Regions from separate parts of the Homo sapiens genome. Here regions 1, 2, 3, 5 and 6 are each linked to region 4. Evidence: promoter capture Hi-C in 16 types of primary human blood cells and fetal thymus (Javierre and others, 2016). All regions are on one chromosome and are shown on one strand. Each heading gives the region's core, a stretch centred on a gene start or on the middle of the fragment in contact. The rest is flanking DNA. Distances are from core to core; before and after follow the strand shown.

Region 1 (2,700 bases), core at 75-2,574, 690 kb before region 4:
TTTTAGTAGAGATGGGGTTTCACCATGTTGGTCAGGCTGGTCTCAAACTCCTGACCTTGTGATCTGCCCTCCTTGGCCTCCTAAAGTGCTGTGGTTAGAGGTGTGAGCCACCGTGCCCAGCCTCCAGCAGTTTTTTTTAATAAAGAAACTTCTAACAAGATCTAAATAAGTTTCCCTTGGAAAGTATATGGCTATGATTAATTCTTTTGCTTACAATTATGATTTCTACACACCTATTATACATACTCAGAAATTTTGCAAAATGAAAAAAATCTGACCTAGAAATGGCTTCAAATGTAATGATATTAAAATTTGAATATCAAATTAAAAGTTATTAAAGTTGACAAAATGCTGACTTTGCATACTTTTAAACACTTATTAATTTCAGCATGCAGTTTCTTGTATTTTGAAGCCGATACATTTATTCAGGTCTTAAACATCTGAGAAGCTTGTAGGCCCTGGCAGAGCCCAAGATACCAAATGGCTAATTGGCCTACTCCCACTAAAGGGAAGACCACCATCGCTTTCACCTGGACCATTCCTAACCAGCCTGCCTGCTTCCTTGCTCAATCTAATTGTTCTCTTGCATCAAATGATTTTTTTTTTAAAAGATAACGCTGTGCTCTTGCGGGCACATAAACCCACATAAACCCTTCAATGGTTTCCTAGAGCATATGGAATAAATAAAAACCACATTCTTCACCATGGCCTCCAAGGCCCTGCATGATCTGACCCAGGCTTACCTCTCCCGCCACTTCCTAAGCTCTGACTGCACTTGCCTTCTCTCTGTTCCAGGAATGTATCCAGCTCTCCCTCACCTTATAGCTTCATCGTTGCCGCCTCTGCTACCTGGAATGCTTTATTATTAAATATCTCTTGTCCTTTCCTTGGCTGCCTCCTTCTCATCCTTCAAGTCTCAACTGACCTGGTTCTTCCTCAAATAGGCCTTCCTTCCCTGATGATCCTATTTAAGTAACGTCCCTGTTCATTTTACTTTCCACCTTCAGGAAATCACTTGGTTCCTCAACCCCCAAATGCATCTTGGTTGTTGGTTCTCTTAAATGACTGATTTGTCTTCTTTGGGGTTTGATTTTCTAATCTCGGAGGGGACTCCCTGTCCTAAAACAGCTGTTCTAGATTGATTTTCATTTTGATATTTGATCTTTAGATTGAATCCCACTTTTCACTTGCTATGTAATCATAAGAGGATTTATTTTAATTTGCCAAACTTTAAAGTGAGGCTAATATACCTAAATTATTCTAGCCTTACTTAAAAAGTAAACAGGAAAAAGAAAATACAATACATGAAGACTACAACAACAAATGGTATGTTGATAAGGAGTGGTAAAGAAAATAAAAGCTCAGTGCCAGGTTACAGCCTAGCTTTGCTCTGGGGGAAAAAACGGAGAATATAAGCCCTAATCAAAGAGTTCACTGGCTGTCTGGTCATGTATTGGCGTTAAAAGCCTCCTATTTTTCACAATAACACAATAATCCTTTTGATGACTTACCCATCTGATGAATTACGGCCTCCAAAACACAAAGAGAAAAATAATGGATTACTGTGCCATGTTTGTTGTTTTCACTTGGAAAAATCATTGTTTTCAGATACAGACCTCCTGTAACCCTCTGCACTAACTGCCCATACAAGATGGTGGATTTCCTTGAGCACAGTTTGTATACCTCAAAGAAAATGCTGTTTTACTGCTCTTTTTAAATGCTAAACTTTGCAATATAAGAGTTATACAGCCTCACAGTTTCAAACAAATGCTGAAAACAGACAGTGTTCCAGAAAGAGCAATCATTTCTCTCAGGGTACTAAACAACAGTGACTGCATTTATTCGGCACTTGTATAAATTCTCTGTGGCAAGGGGCAAGGCTTGGGAAATATTTACATGGGTTGGCACATTTTTCAGATTTACTTGGAAAAGTGCTCAGTTGTTGAAGACCTAAAAGATACTTTAGCAGTGATAGTACATTAACAATCAACTGAATTTAAATCATTTCCACAATTCTGGAAATTTGTTTAAAGCACAGTTCACCACCCCCTTGCACATTTCAGGATTTAATAACTATATACCAAAATCCCAACCAACAAATCCTGGCAAATATCTCTATGTGTCCACCTGCATTTGTTTTCCAAGTTTTTCTTCTAGAAAAAGCAGATGAAGGCAATCCATATGAATCCTTCACTATTAAGAAAGCTTTTTCATCTGTTAGCATTATTTGATCTGTTTTACTCCAATTATTTAAAATATAAGTTGTTCGAGCATATATTTCAGAAAAATACAATAGACAAGAAAAAATGTTTCTGCTAATAACTAGTAGTAAAATACAATTTTCAAATTTAGTATTATTATTATATATATATTTTAGTTCAATCAACCAAAAATGTTGGAAAACTATTTCTTTGGGTAGAAAATCATCCATACTAATCATTTTCTATTACAAAGAAAGAATATTCCTTCACAAGGCATTCTAATATAAATTTAACCTTAGCTCTTTTATAGAAAACCTATTATTAACCCATTTTGGACCAGGTAATTTATATATATATTTTTCCATGTGTAGTTTATATAAAACTTATTTCATGTGTAGTTTATATAAAACTACAAAATGTAGCTAATTAGAATTCTAATAGAAAAAAATTCACATTTATACATATTTTCCCTTGGGCTAAAGAACAAACAAACACATTA
Region 2 (2,769 bases), core at 253-2,752, 670 kb before region 4:
GATACTTTAGGACAATACAATTATTTCCCAGGTTTTAGTAGAGTAGGTGTAAGTATATTCGTATATAACATACACTTGGCTGTATTGTGCCATAAAGAATGAATAAGTCAAGCAACCATATCATAAATGGCTTGTTAAAAGTTAAAACACTGCTATTTATACGTAAAATTTAACTGCTATTTTGATAGATCATGTGTAGGATAACTTTAAAAAAGTAAAACTATGGGGGAAAGGGCAGGTATTATTTTCCTAATGGAATCCAAATAATTCCACTAGCCTGAATTTAGAGTTTGACTTCAAGTTCATAATATTTTTAAATTAAAAAAATGTGTGTGTGTATATATGTTATTCCTTTTTTTTTTTTCTGAGACAGAGTCTCACTCTGTCGCCCAGGTTGCAGTGCCGTGGCATGATCATGGCTCACTGCAACCTCAACGTCCCAGGCCTAAGTGATCCTCCCATCCTAGCCTCCCAAGTAGCTGGGACCACAGGCATGCGCTACGATGTCCGGCTAACTTATTTTTTACTCTTTCAGAGACGGGGTCTCCCTATGTTGCCAGGCTTGTCTCGAATCCCTGGGCTTAAGCAATCTCCCGGCCTCAGCCTCTCAAAGTGTTGGGATTACAGGCATGAACCACCACGCCCAGCCAAGTTATTCCATTCTATACATATTTAAAGACCTTATGAGATGTTTAATTTATGAACCTGAAGAAAAATTCCTTGAATCCCATTCTCTTGTTCAGTGTGGCATTTTGTCCTTTGTCTTACCATCAGCACACTACCTTTTCACTCACTCAAATATTTATTAAATGGCTACTGTTGTATACAAATGCATTTTTTGCTGGATTTTGGCTCAATGCACCACTGATTCAACCAATGAAGTCAATCCTGCTGAACTTAAGAAGCAGATTTCAGTTCTGCTTTACACATTTAAAACATAATAATGGGATATAAGATTTTCCTGAATATCAAGATATATGAGGTTTCTTGGCCTATAGCGCCATGATGACTGTCAAATATCCATGCATCGTGTTTGTGTAAGCATTTCTTCAAGGTGACTGCTAGTCTCGAATTAAGTAAAGTTATCACAGGATTATCATTTCTTAATGGCTCCTTGTTTGTTTTCTAGGTAATAACACTAGAACATGCTTGCCTGGACAGGACTCGGAGACATTTCTACTAGACCACATATTTTCTAATATACTTCCAAATCTAAAAGCTGTTGAAATGTACCAATAATGCTAAGCTTTTTTAAAACTGACAATTAAAAATGGTATACATTTTGGTACAAAATATGATATTTTAAAATACGTATACATTGTGGAATGGCTAAATTGACCTAATTAACATATGCATTACTCTTCACATACTATTTTTGCAGTGAGAGCACTTAAAATCTACTCCCTTAGCAGTTTTCAAGTTAAACTTTTAATTTGATTACATATTATCATCATAATTTTTACCTAGCTGTTTATAAACAGTCCTTCTAGCTACAGAAATGTTTACATACTAGTCATACGCAAGCCTTAGACATATAGTCTTATTTATGTTTCAGAAAATAAAGGTTTTAAGGCAAATTTTAAATGAGAATCATTAAGTTGTTGGTTGTCATAGGTAGCTCAAAAAAGATTAATATTTATCTTCGCTAACTGCCTATGAGCTGAAAAATAAAAATAAAATTATAGCAGACACCAAGGATAGAATAGGCAGGTTTTTTGGTCCATTTTAATACAGAAAGAAAGAGGTAGATACAACTGCTAAAGCTTCATTTCCTCAGCCTGCTTTCATGATGGGTACAGTACAGGATGCCATTTAAAGAACTGGTTCCAACAGTTTTAAAAAGTCTAATCTTACTGTTACTCATATTGCCAAACCACAAGGGTAAAAGTTCTGAAATAACTTTTTGAAACTTCACAGATAATCAAAACATAAGAACATGATTCATAATCGGCAAGAGGTTTGGCTTCCAAAAGTTAGGAAATCTCCATGACTCTGAAGAGAGTGGCACAAAAAAAAAATAATAATAATAATCAAACAAGAACCCAAACAAAACCATAGGAAACAACTCAATGGAACATCAATCATGTTTCAGAGGTTGCCCTGTTCTCTCTGTTTGGGTCACTTGGCAGGTCTGGTTTCAGAGAAAGTGTAAGAACTAAGCATCCGTAACCTTTTTGAATGCATGCACTTTGCAAAGTAACAACTGCAGAAGGGACAAAGGAAAAAGTTTCAAAGCTCTGGTACTGTTTCTTCCATAAGGTAAGCATAATGTATCTGGTGTCTACTTATTCCTCTTCTTTTTCTCCCTTTTCCATCATGAAGCAAGCATAAATGGATGAAACACCAAGAAAATAAATGCAAGAAAGAGAATGTGGGAAACCAGGAATAATAATCAAAAGGATAGTGACCAACCATTCCAGCCTGCCTGGGACTGGTTCCAGCTTTAGCACTTAAAGTCTCATATCCTGAGAAGCCCCTCAGTCCTGGGCAAATCAGGAGGTTGGTCACTCTAATCAAAGACGTTTTTAAAAAGGAAAAGAAAGATGAGTCTACAGGAAGAGGAAATGGGAAAAATAAGGTATATGCTCAGAATAAAAAAAGAGAGTAGGGAAGCAAAGAAATGACAGGAAGACTACCAAAAAGATAAATAATTCGAGAGAGAAAGAAATAAAGAAAACAAATGTGAAGAACCTAAAATGGGAGCTAGATGGTAGATGAAAAGGGCAAGAAGGGAAAGGACAGATTGGTTTCAGTATTTTGACCTTAGGA
Region 3 (2,872 bases), core at 148-2,647, 710 kb before region 4:
CTTTCCTGAGCTCAGTATTGTGTCCAAAGCTGTGTAACTATCGTTAGCTCCTACTCCCCAGCTGAGATAGTCAATTGAATATTTCTTTTCCTTTTCTTCAAGTTGTTATAAAAGGAAAACAGCTTGGTCTCCTTTAAAGCTGAGTTAAAATCACTTTTAAAAAAATTGTCAGCATCACTTGGGACTGCAGTCTAAAATTAAAACTGCTCTCAAAGTCTCCAGCAGTTCCATTCATCACCTGCTCAAAGCCATGCATGCTGCCAAATTTAACATTAGAATGGAGGCATGATTCTTTTAAAAAATTTTCAGAATCAATGTAAATTTTCACTTTGTAAGAAACCTTGTATTACCTCCCCTCCCCCAATAATCGCAATAGGAGAAAACACCTGGAAGTAAATAGCTCAACTTTTCTAATGCCATAAATATACTTGAAAAGTTCCTAAAAGTAGGCATAGGTCAAGCTTAGTGGCTTTCTTCATTTTTTGGAAACTGGTGCATTGAACTGCCATTCATTTTTAAATATTTGATCACTTGCCTTTAAACCAGGCCCACACGAATCTTATGTTTTCCAGAAATCCTCCAGATTACGTTGACCCAAAAGTGCATGTAAAGCCAGTGGGAAATAAAGAGAAATCTGTGTTTTATTCTGATTCAGAGGTAGGAAAGCTTGTATCCAGGCTGTGTCTTTATGTCCTGCTTAGGAGGTGGACTTCATCCAGGAGGTTTGGGGAGAAGAGGTTTACACAGGTATGCGACATGATGACAAATGTGAAACTTAGAAAACAAACAGGGCCATTTCCAAAACTAGAACTTAACTTATTTACCTGGTCATGATCAATATCTCCATCTCCTGTGATCACAATGCGTTTCTCAATTCTTGTTTCAGAAATTCCACCTTTTACAGTCTAAAGGTCATAAAGGAGAAGAAGAAAAAACAGCAATCACTGAAGCACGTTTACACAGTCAGAGCAAACAGAGATGGGAGTCCACCTAGACCTGTGGATCATTGTAAGGCCACACACAACAAGCAGCAAAAGACTGATATTCTAGAAACACTTTGTGCTTTATTTTTAGGCTCAATAGAGAATCCTATTACTAAAGTTATAGCATCCACAAGTATCCCTCAGCTGAGAGCAACCTTAAAACTCATTTATCAATATTCAAGATGGCATCTGTCCCATCTTAATCTCACTTGATTAAGATAGGACAGATATTATTTAATCCAAGTAGTTCCTTTAAGGGAATTCTGTTATAGTTTCCCGAGTTTCTTTACTCCTAGCTGGCCAATTTTTAAAAAGGAGAGTAGGGAGAAATCAGTTACTTGCAGAATTACAAGAAATTATAAGAATTTAGGTATCTGTTTTTGGTTTGAGAAACTGTTTGATGTGATATATATTTTTTTCCCATCACAGAAGACTTCTGTATGATGTGATGGTTTTGACTGATGGATTCTGAGCATACAAATTTATTTGCTGATTTTGTTTATTGCATTTAGTGCAATAATTTTAAAAAGGATTTGCTTTGGTTTCAGATACGGAAGATGGATGAGATTTTTGTTGAATGTTTGATTTGATGACACCCTGCGTAAGTAGTCATACACGTAGACATGGCGCATGGCTAGACAAAGGCTGCGAGCGGGGCTGGAGGAGGGAGCTCCTGGGGGAACTGCCTCACAGCGTTATGGGCTCCGTACAAGCTGCGAGTGCCTGGGGCACACTGGATGAGGCTGAGGAGATCATCTGGCTGTGACCTTCTAAACAGTCAATAAGCAAATACCACACGGTCCTGGGAAAGCGCACATCCAACATTTACAACTCTGATAAATGTACACTCTCAGTCACAAGTGACAGCATTTTACCATAACAAACCAGGCTTATCACTATGCTTAATAACTGGATATGCTTTAAAATGAGCACCAACAGTACCTTGCATTTATGCGGCATTTTTAAATTTACAAATTACTTTTGCTGTTTTTTAAATTGTTGTTGAAACATGGGTTGGGAAGGGCACAAGGGACACCTTTAAGACCTTTAGACACTTATCCAAAGTAAAAAACAGAAGAAGGAAATAGTGGAAAATAAGGCTGGAGTTAGAAAGCTGATGACTTCAGCATGCATCAGAATCACTGGAAGCTTCTTAAGACAATTCTAAGGTTTCAGGAGGACTGGAGTGGGGCCACGCTATTTATACTTCTAACAATGCCCCGGGTGAAGCTGATGCTGCTGATCCAGGGATGACTGGTTACCCAGTGCTAAACATTTAGAGAATTATGCAGGGAGGAACAGGGGAATGCCCCAAATCAGTATACTAGCGATCTTAAATGAGGGAAATTCTACATTATTTGAACAACTTGCTGAAAATTCTGAATGATGGCCTTCATTCATTCGCTTTAGTCAGGAGGGCTGGTTTAATAAAAGTAGAAGCACAAGTTTGTTTTTATAAATTATAAATTTTATTAAATTATTTATGGTTTTGTAGCTATCTTACATATAGCTATTCGTAACATATTTTTACCCCCTTGTACTTCACAAAATTGCAATTTGGCTTGAATGCATTTGTCAATGGAGCCTAATTTCTTGGATACTTTAAACCAAGGCATTTTGATTCCGCTGGCACTGTCTGTATCTTACTTGGAAGTGTGTACAGGAAGAGAGAAACAATTCAGAAAAGATTCTGTCTGTAATGTACCATCCTCTCCATATGATCCCCTGCATTGCTTTACCTTGGTGATGTGTGTGGTTGTCGTTGTTGACACGGACTCAGATGTGATGGTTTGTGCGGTCAGTAACGTGCCCGAATCACCACCAGCCCCGCCATCAATCTTTGGATAGTTGGGGGAAAAATACAAAGTAATGCTTAACTTCTGTTATGT
Region 4 (2,863 bases), core at 253-2,752:
AAACTACATACCTACAATTTGATGGGGTGGCAGGAATTTAATAAGACTTCCAAAGCACAAAGCATTCGGGGGAAATTATACAAGTGTCTATTTTAAAATTGAGGATTTTGAGTGATAACATATAAAAAGTTATCAGATTTCTGACAGGTTGGGAAAAGTTATTTGCAATGTCAATGCTATAAGGTTAATATCTAGGCAATATGAGGAATACCACAAGTAAATATTTAGGATATACAAGCAAACCCACAAGAAAAAGGTAGGAAACCTATTTGGAAAACAGTCCTATCAAAATGGACCCATGAGACTTTGGTTTCCTCATTTATCCATTCAATAAATATTTATTGAGTGCCTATTATACACCAACACTCTTCTAGGCCCTGGGGATACAGCAGACAAAATTCTCTGACCTCATGGAATTTAAATTCCAAAATGTTCTTTCCCACCAATAGGAAAAAGAAATTAGTTTCTACTAAGTGAATTTTCCCTTTAAATTACAATTACATAATTTTAAAGTCGGAAGGATCTTTAAGGTGCCTTTATTTTAAATTCATACTTTTGTATGGTGACAAATGGTAGCTCAGGGGCATAGAGGTTGACACCTTCCCAGCATTTAGACTATAAGCTCGACGGTTAAGTGGATTCAGAATGGCAGAGACTAAATCCCGACTTTTCTTCTACAGCCTATGTTGGCAACGGGTCTGAGCTTCAGTTTATTCATCAGTATAATGGCACCAATGATGAGACTTCACATAAAATTGGTATAAATATAAATATGGTATTTTGAAACAGAACTGCATCGGACACATGGTAAAAACTCAATGTTAGCTATTTTTATTTCTATACTTTGATTATGATATGATTCTACAATTATTTTCCTGTACACCATACTTCAAAAATGGTAACCTCTCTGGGTTACCAATCAAGTAACTAATTTTTTAAAGTAATCATCAAAAAAGGAAGTTATATACTCTTTATTATATTATACCCTAAAAGTTTATGAAATGTGTCTCATGGATTAACCATTTACCCTCATGTGTGAAATCTCAACTCAGGATTTTAGGGCTGGAAGGGATGTGACAGACGATCTTGCCAAGCCCGGCCCTTCTTCTACAAGGACGTCTTCAGAGATCTGGAGGAGGAAAGGGCCTTGCCCTGAGTTCGCTGAGCCAGAACAATAGGACTTCTTCTGTAGTTGTGAAACTTGTCAGTTGTTGAAGTCAGGTTAATGTCATCTGGCTGGCTTTTTAAAAGGGTGTGAAGTGAGAACATGAATAATTGTCACTTGATTAGAGACCTAGACTCAGAGTTAGGTTACTCCATGTATGAAGTAACCCCATATAGTTACTTCATACATGGAGTAACCATATAGTTACTCCATGTATGAAAAATTGCAAGACTGTTGACTGTCATTCTTTGGTTTAGTGGGTGGAGCCAGCTGTCCTCATTAGATAAAGGTTGTTTATTCAACCCAAGTATAAATGGAAAAAAAAGATGCGCCCTCTGTCACTGAGGGTTGACTGACTGGAGAGCTCAAGTGCAGCAAAGAGAAGTGTCAGAGCATGAGCGCCAAGTCCAGAACCATAGGGATTATTGGAGCTCCTTTCTCAAAGGGACAGGTAAGGAAAAAAGTCTTTCTTTGAATTCCTGGAATTTAGTTGAAAATTTTGGACTTCAAAATTTGTAAGGTGTTATTGTCTAGTTAGTTCAGTTTTCTGATACAATCTGGCCAGGAAATGCATATTTTAAAGTCCTCTCACCATTTTCCAACATTGTATAATTATAGTCACATATCCACTTACTTTTGTGGCTCGTGATCTCAGCCAAGGCTAAATTCATTTGAACCTACAGAATGTTTTCTCATATTTTTTAGGAGAAAATATTTTTCTTTGAATTGAAATGGACTCTTTCTGCATTGTAGCTACTCATTGAGGTTTAGTTGCTCTTGTTGTTTTTGATGTTACTGTGTGTATGTAGAGGAAGAGAGAATTTTAAGAAATACATTTGTTTAGTTATGTAATTAATGCCTAGAAAAATTTAATAGTTTGGTGGTAACCTTCAGGCTTCTTATAATTTGGATAACCTAAATATTATTGTTTCATGCAACTTTGTGAATAATTCATGTTATGTTAGGGTTTTAATGTTTCTATGAAACTGTTCATTCATGGACTAGGTAGAATCCTTTATGTGCCTCACTTGGAAGGGGAAAAAAAGAACAAAAAAAGAAAGAAAATCCTACTGCGGGTTGGCAACTCTAAAAGGATTTTAATGGATTTATGAAACCCCCAGATTTCCTTACAGCCACGAGCTGTGAATCCACACATGCCAGCAACATTGAATACACTTTTTTTTCTGCCTGGGCACACTTATTCTAGTAAAGAGAGTGTGATGACAGAACACCTTAGACTTCAACACGCATCTGTGCTTAAAGAGGATAAAAAACAAAGAACAAAATCAAACAAGACAATGTATGAGTTGAAACTACTAAGGTTGATTTTCTCCAGGTTTCTCAGGATCTGGGCAGCGTTTTGCTTCCTCTTAATTTGGAACCCTTGCTGTGTACTCTGACTTTTTACTGCAAAACAAATTGAGAGAGGCCAGAGGTTAGAGGCCCAAACTGCATTTGGACTGTCAGTAAATACTACTTTGCTTCCCCTGGAAATCCTCCAAAAGTCTCTCCCAAACACAGGGACATTTTGCTGACACAGAAATGTTCCTTTTAAAATCCACACTGTTCTCACCCACTCTTGAACAGGTTATAATAAATATATAATTTAAAAACCTCACAAAAGGGAAGCAAGTGTCCTCCTTCTACCACCCTCCTCCCATTAAAACATGGTCATGAGAATGGAGTTCATTGTCTCAT
Region 5 (2,700 bases), core at 85-2,584, 640 kb before region 4:
TAAAGTGGTATAAACAGTAGGAAAGACAGCGAGAAGGCAATTAGCAGAAGCCAAAGGTATCACGAGGCCAACCTATATTTGCCAAAGTTATTTTCCACTGGTCCCACTCATCCCATGAGTTATATACACCACTCATTCCCAAAAAGAGCAGCAGAGTGAGACAAGAAAAATTCTCCTTGTTGCATATGATTACTGAGCACCAAAACACCTATTTGTATAACAGACACCCTGAGGAGTCCTGCAATGCAAAAACCCTGTTTCCCATTATTCCTTTCACTTGGGAAACCTGATGTTTCCCAAAACTATTTAGCAAAAGAGCCCACTATTTTTTAATACAACATTTACTAATGTATTCTACAACAGAATTTTTGTTTTAAAGACCACACCTCACTAAATGAGGTAGGAAAGAATTACAGGTTGAGCATCCCAAATCCAAAAACCCAAAATATGAAATGCTCCAAAATCCAAAAGTTTTTTAACGCCAACATTATGCTCAAAGAAAATGCTCATTGGAGCATTTCGGATTTCCAATTTCTTGATTTGGAGTGCTCAAGTATTACAAAATCTGAAAAAACTTGAAATACAAAATATTTCTGGTCCCAAGCATTTCAGATAAAAGATACTCAACCTGTACCACCATCTGACTCTAACGCAGATGTAGACACTGGTATTCACATCTGTTTGATTCAAAAATGCCAAAAGATAATCCAGTTTAAACTGGTCCAAGATTAGATATGCCCAGCTGCCTGGGAGAAGCAAGAAATTCTCATAGACAAAAATCTCAAAAAACATACATTAAAAATCACAAAACGACAAGGAAACCAGACACCATTATTGAGAGACACAGTATCAGAATCAGATCTTCAGAGACTGCACATAGTAGAATTATCAAGAACAAAACACAAAATATATATGTTTTATGTGTTTATAAGAAATATTTTAAAATATGACTAAGGAAAAAGTGAATATGAAAAAGCAGGTTTTGAAAATAATCAAATAAAACACCTAGAAATGAAAACTATAGTAACTAAATTATAATCCAAATGGACAGGATATGACAAAGCTGAAGAGAAAACCAGTGAACTGGAAGATAGATCTGAAAAAAACTATCCAGAATGTGGCTGAGAAAGACAAAGGGAAGGACAATATGAAAGAACTTCACAGACATGGAGAACAGAATGAGGGGTCTACAAATATCTCATCAGAGTCCTAGATGGAGATGAGAGAGAATAAGGGAAAGGCAATATTAAAAGAAACAACGCTATAAAACTTCAAATTAAGAAAGCTCAATGAATCCCTAGCAAAATTAATAAAATTTATTAATCTACAATGATTTTATTCTACTAATTTATTATTTATACTCAACATATAAAAGGTTCTAACACGCATTATTTTTTTAAATAGCTATAATAAAGTCATCAAGACAAGAGGGAATGAAACATAAGCTAGGGAATAAAAAGAAGGACTGAGAAGGAAAATTGTAACAAAAAAACACAGAAAAGTCACTCCTAAGAAACCTAAAACAGATGTGCTTTGGAGGCTTATTCAAAAAGGCAAACAAAATAAGTAGTACATTTCTTCTTATATTCTAAAAAGCATCAGATTATCAGGTGACACATATTAAATGCTACATATGAATGTTCCAAGTTATAACATTTATAGCACTAATGTTCAATCAAACTCGATTGGGTCGGCTCAGACAGCAACACCATCTAGTGGCTCACAACTTTGTCTTCACACTGTTCACAACACATTCCATAAATAATAATTCTCTTTGGGGTGGGGGTGAAGAACCAAGGCACAATGCATAATGGTAGCACATAAAAATGTACAGGGGCATGTAAGTTGAAATTGTTCCTCAAAATAGTTCTTCCTTTCCCCCGAGATTCTGGTATGTTCCATCTTTCTTGAGAATCACCAATTCTTAACAATACGGAAGAAAAGTACTGCAGTATAATCACAGTGTCCTGGGCTTGACCCCCAGCCCTACTCTTAACAGCTCTGTAACCACAGTAAGTTACGTAACTTCTCTATGCCTCAGTTCCGCTCTTTAAAAGTACCCACCTTATAATGGTGATGAGATAATTAAATGAAGTATGTTTAAAGTGATCAATAAAATGTTTGGCTTATTACATGGATTCATTAAAGCCAGCTGAAATTACAAGACCTTTTTGAGCTGCTCTAAAATAATAATTGATTTTAAATATGATTTTAAAGTTTTCCATTATCTAATCAAACTTTCTTATTTCACAAATAAGAAAAATAAGGTTATAGAAAGTTTATCTAATTTTTCAGTCTGATTTCTGAATTTCTTTTAAAATAATTAAATTATTATGTATGCTCTTAATATACACTAATATTCCACACTTCTATCCAGGAAAGTAATTTTCTTCCATTAACATTGCTTTTAAAAAAAAAAAAATCAACAACTTGAATTCTACTGTATAAAAAGGACTACAAATATACATTTGTTAACCAAGCAAAATATACACATAATTTTGCTTCATAACTTTCACCTAAGATACCAGTACACGTAGTTGCTTCATTAGTTGTCACAGCAATTTTGGGGTATTGCCCCAGATAAAGAGAACCACTTACTGACTTATCAAGACATATTCTAATTTTTTTCCTCTGATTTATTTACAAGTGTCAAAACTACCTCTACTTGTATACAAATCTCCAAAATATCCTTCCCTATGA
Region 6 (2,700 bases), core at 104-2,603, 730 kb before region 4:
AATAATTCAGCAAAATGCTTTTGCTTTTCCTGGTTTGCTGGAACATGTTCATGCTGTTTGGAGACCCCACCTTCTTAGGAGGCTCTTCTGTGGGTCCTTTAAGGCCCAAGTCCCATCTTCAGGCCTTTTGGGACTGGGTTGACCTTCCTGAGCCCTGTGTCCTCTGAATGAACTGTATTACTCTCAAAGGCCTACATGCTAATATAACTTTACTTCAAATAGTAATAAAGATACTGAGCTTCATCTGACTGAAAAGCAAAAAAATATCGGATTTAACTTTTATAGATGTTCCTATGATATTTTACTCCTGGCTTTGCTTCCAAGTTAAATTCAATCTTACTCTTAGAGATGTCCAGTTCAGTATCCCCATTACTAACTGTCTGAACCAGTATCTTGATTTCTTTACAGGGTACTTCATCTAATCTAGAAGCTTTTCAGTCAATCATACACACTACTGATAAATTCATATTACTAAAGGACATGGCATGTAAGACCATCTGCAATTTGCCTTCAACAAATGTTTCCAGCTGTGCTGAGAACTCTATACATAACCACGATGGAGGTTTGCTTTTCCCGACATCCTTCCCATTGTTTTCCCATGTGCTCTTTCTTCCCTCCCCAATCTCCAACTATCCAGATTGCCCTTGGTGCTTTGCACAGAGGAGCTTTCCTGCAACCTTTCTGGAGAGCTTTGTCTTGTTTGGCCAATCAGAAGCATTTCTCCTGTCAACTTCCACAGCCCTTTATCTAGGCTTCTCTTCAAATATACTATTTTTGTGCCCTGAACATTATTTTTATGCATGTTCCTATGCCTTCCCCTCTCACACACAACTATAATAGTCCCTTGAACATAACAGGCTCATAATATAGATTAATGAATCCAGAAGTGAAAGTATCAGGGACTAATTTGTAACGTAAGACTGAAGAATAAGAGCTTGAGGAAACGGCAGGGAAAAAAAACAACAGAATTGCATTATATCTTTAGGAAGAAGCACTAATTCCCATGTTTACCATTACTCTCATCTGCCAATTTTCTTGTTTAAGTAGAAAAACATCAGGTTCATTTTTCTGTTCTCTTTTGTTGATTAACTATATCTATGATATCCCATGAGGACTCTTACTTCTTTAAAAAACTGGTTTCCTCAAATCACTGAAGCCGTAACACAAGTTTCTAAAAGTAGTAGTGCCGGCCCTAAAGCTGTTAAGGTCTTCTGGTTCACTCTGCTAGGTCAAATCTTCTGGGAATTTGATATAAAAGCGTTCTACAAAATCTTAAAGCTTCTTTTAAATAACAAATGAACTATGGTCAGGCTCCACTCAGTATACTCTATTAGAGCTGAGCTTTTGTCACTTAGGTTCATAAGATGGGTAGTAATGAGAAAACATTTCTCTGTAGCATCAAATAAGAGCTTAAAAATACAAACTAACAAAGCTTTCATCTTTTAGAAAAAAGGAAGGTTAGTGGGAATCAAAAGAAATTTCTAGACCCAACTTTCTCACTTTTTATCTGAGGGAACATGGGAAAAAAATCACTTTTCCTCAAAGTTAAATAAAGATAGCTTAAAACACTATTCCCTGCCCCCTAACAGTCTCTGTCTCTCTCTGTCTCTCTCTCTCTCTCTCACACACACACACACACACACACACACACACACACACACACACAGAATCTAAACTGCATCGTGCCATATTAGTTTAAGGTTGTCCTCTCACTTCATCCCTCCTACCCTCCACAGATCAACACTGTCCAAGAGAAATATACTGCAAGCAATGAATGTGAGCCACATATGTAAATTTTCTAGAAGCCACATTTCAAAAAATAAAAAGGAACATGTATATGTAATTTTAATGTAGTTATTAAACCCAATATATCCAAATTATTATTTCAATAAGTAATTAATTTAAAAATTAGAAATAATTTACTTTTTTCTCATGTCTGAAATCCAGTAAATATCTTATACTTACAACATATCTCAATTTGAACTAGCCACATTTCAAGTGCTCAATAGCCACAAGTGGGTATTGGCTACCATACTGGACAGAACAGGTCCAGACTTCCATGTGCTCTAATGCTAACTCAACTATTTTGATGCAAGAAAGCATCAATATGTCCTTGGACTGTAATCCTCGTAAGGACAGGAGTATCTTTACAAAAACACACACATACACAAACTTGTTAATTAGTTGCCATAGTAAAATTCCCCTCTGATGCCACCCACAAAATTTACATGTTTAAACAATTGGTATCTGGGGTATCTAACAGAAAAGCCTTGAGATAAATCAATCTATACTTAGCACAGGTGACCTATGACAGTTACGTTAATGTCTAGGATCCTATTTCCTTATAAAGAAGGTTAGAGGAGAGACACGAAGATGCTCTACAGGCAGTTTAACATTAAATATTCTTTACATTTCCAGACTCTCAAACACAGCCTAGGACAGGGTAACAAAGTCATAACCACCACCCCAACACGGTCAGAGGCCAGATGGGTAACATATATGCATAAGGAGACTGGGCCCCAAGGGCCTCAACATAAAGACAGGATATGACAGGCAGTAGCACTGTGGTGACCTAGAGAGCTCCTCCCAGCCTGATGCTGGCCACACCTACTAAGCTCCAGCATAGTAACCACAGGGAGAGCAGGCTCAATGTCATCAGAGCTTCTGATTTTTCTAAAATTGCTGACTATCTTCTAATGT

What was found. The method cuts DNA at HindIII sites, captures the fragments that hold promoters and counts their contacts. A CHiCAGO score of 5 or more calls a contact.
Region 1: a contact is called between a fragment that was not itself captured here and the fragment with the promoter of ARG1 in region 4, in 13 of 17 cell types (naive CD8 T cells, fetal thymus, total CD4 T cells and 10 more). The highest score is 14.3, in naive CD8 T cells.
Region 2: a contact is called between a fragment that was not itself captured here and the fragment with the promoter of ARG1 in region 4, in 4 of 17 cell types (naive CD8 T cells, non-activated CD4 T cells, naive CD4 T cells and 1 more). The highest score is 8.6, in naive CD8 T cells.
Region 3: a contact is called between a fragment that was not itself captured here and the fragment with the promoter of ARG1 in region 4, in 3 of 17 cell types (activated CD4 T cells, M2 macrophages and naive CD4 T cells). The highest score is 5.5, in activated CD4 T cells.
Region 5: a fragment that was not itself captured here is called in contact with the fragment with the promoter of ARG1 in region 4 in 1 of 17 cell types (fetal thymus); the score reaches 5.3 in fetal thymus.
Region 6: a contact is called between a fragment that was not itself captured here and the fragment with the promoter of ARG1 in region 4, in 4 of 17 cell types (non-activated CD4 T cells, naive CD4 T cells, total CD4 T cells and 1 more). The highest score is 7.8, in non-activated CD4 T cells.

Annotation. Positions count from the first base shown.
Region 1 is chr6:130,886,811-130,889,510 of GRCh38, forward strand. All of the region lies in intron 11 of EPB41L2 (erythrocyte membrane protein band 4.1 like 2), which reads right to left. Among named protein-coding and RNA genes, the nearest start is that of SMLR1, 61 kb to the left of the region's middle. The HindIII fragment of the contact is 1,757 bases long and covers 447-2,203 here.
Region 2 is chr6:130,905,071-130,907,839 of GRCh38, forward strand. All of the region lies in intron 5 of EPB41L2 (erythrocyte membrane protein band 4.1 like 2), which reads right to left. Among named protein-coding and RNA genes, the nearest start is that of SMLR1, 79 kb to the left of the region's middle. The HindIII fragment of the contact is 517 bases long and covers 1,245-1,761 here.
Region 3 is chr6:130,862,814-130,865,685 of GRCh38, forward strand. It overlaps EPB41L2 (erythrocyte membrane protein band 4.1 like 2), which reads right to left. Exons shown (of 20, transcript NM_001431.4): 17 at 2,723-2,821; 18 at 825-905. Among named protein-coding and RNA genes, the nearest start is that of SMLR1, 37 kb to the left of the region's middle. RefSeq lists an enhancer at 736-1,030. The HindIII fragment of the contact is 1,466 bases long and covers 665-2,130 here.
Region 4 is chr6:131,571,724-131,574,586 of GRCh38, forward strand. ARG1 (arginase 1) reads left to right here and starts at 1,503. Exons shown (of 8, transcript NM_000045.4): 1 at 1,503-1,616. The coding sequence starts at 1,560. It also overlaps a transcript of MED23 not described here. RefSeq lists an enhancer at 969-1,470. The HindIII fragment of the contact is 9,894 bases long and covers 1-2,863 here.
Region 5 is chr6:130,929,912-130,932,611 of GRCh38, forward strand. The region is part of intron 3 of EPB41L2 (erythrocyte membrane protein band 4.1 like 2); the gene reads right to left. Among named protein-coding and RNA genes, the nearest start is that of SMLR1, 100 kb to the left of the region's middle. RefSeq lists an enhancer at 1,577-1,746. The HindIII fragment of the contact is 4,313 bases long and covers 1-2,700 here.
Region 6 is chr6:130,846,578-130,849,277 of GRCh38, forward strand. The region is part of intron 19 of EPB41L2 (erythrocyte membrane protein band 4.1 like 2); the gene reads right to left. Among named protein-coding and RNA genes, the nearest start is that of SMLR1, 21 kb to the left of the region's middle. RefSeq lists an enhancer at 2,402-2,541. The HindIII fragment of the contact is 154 bases long and covers 1,277-1,430 here.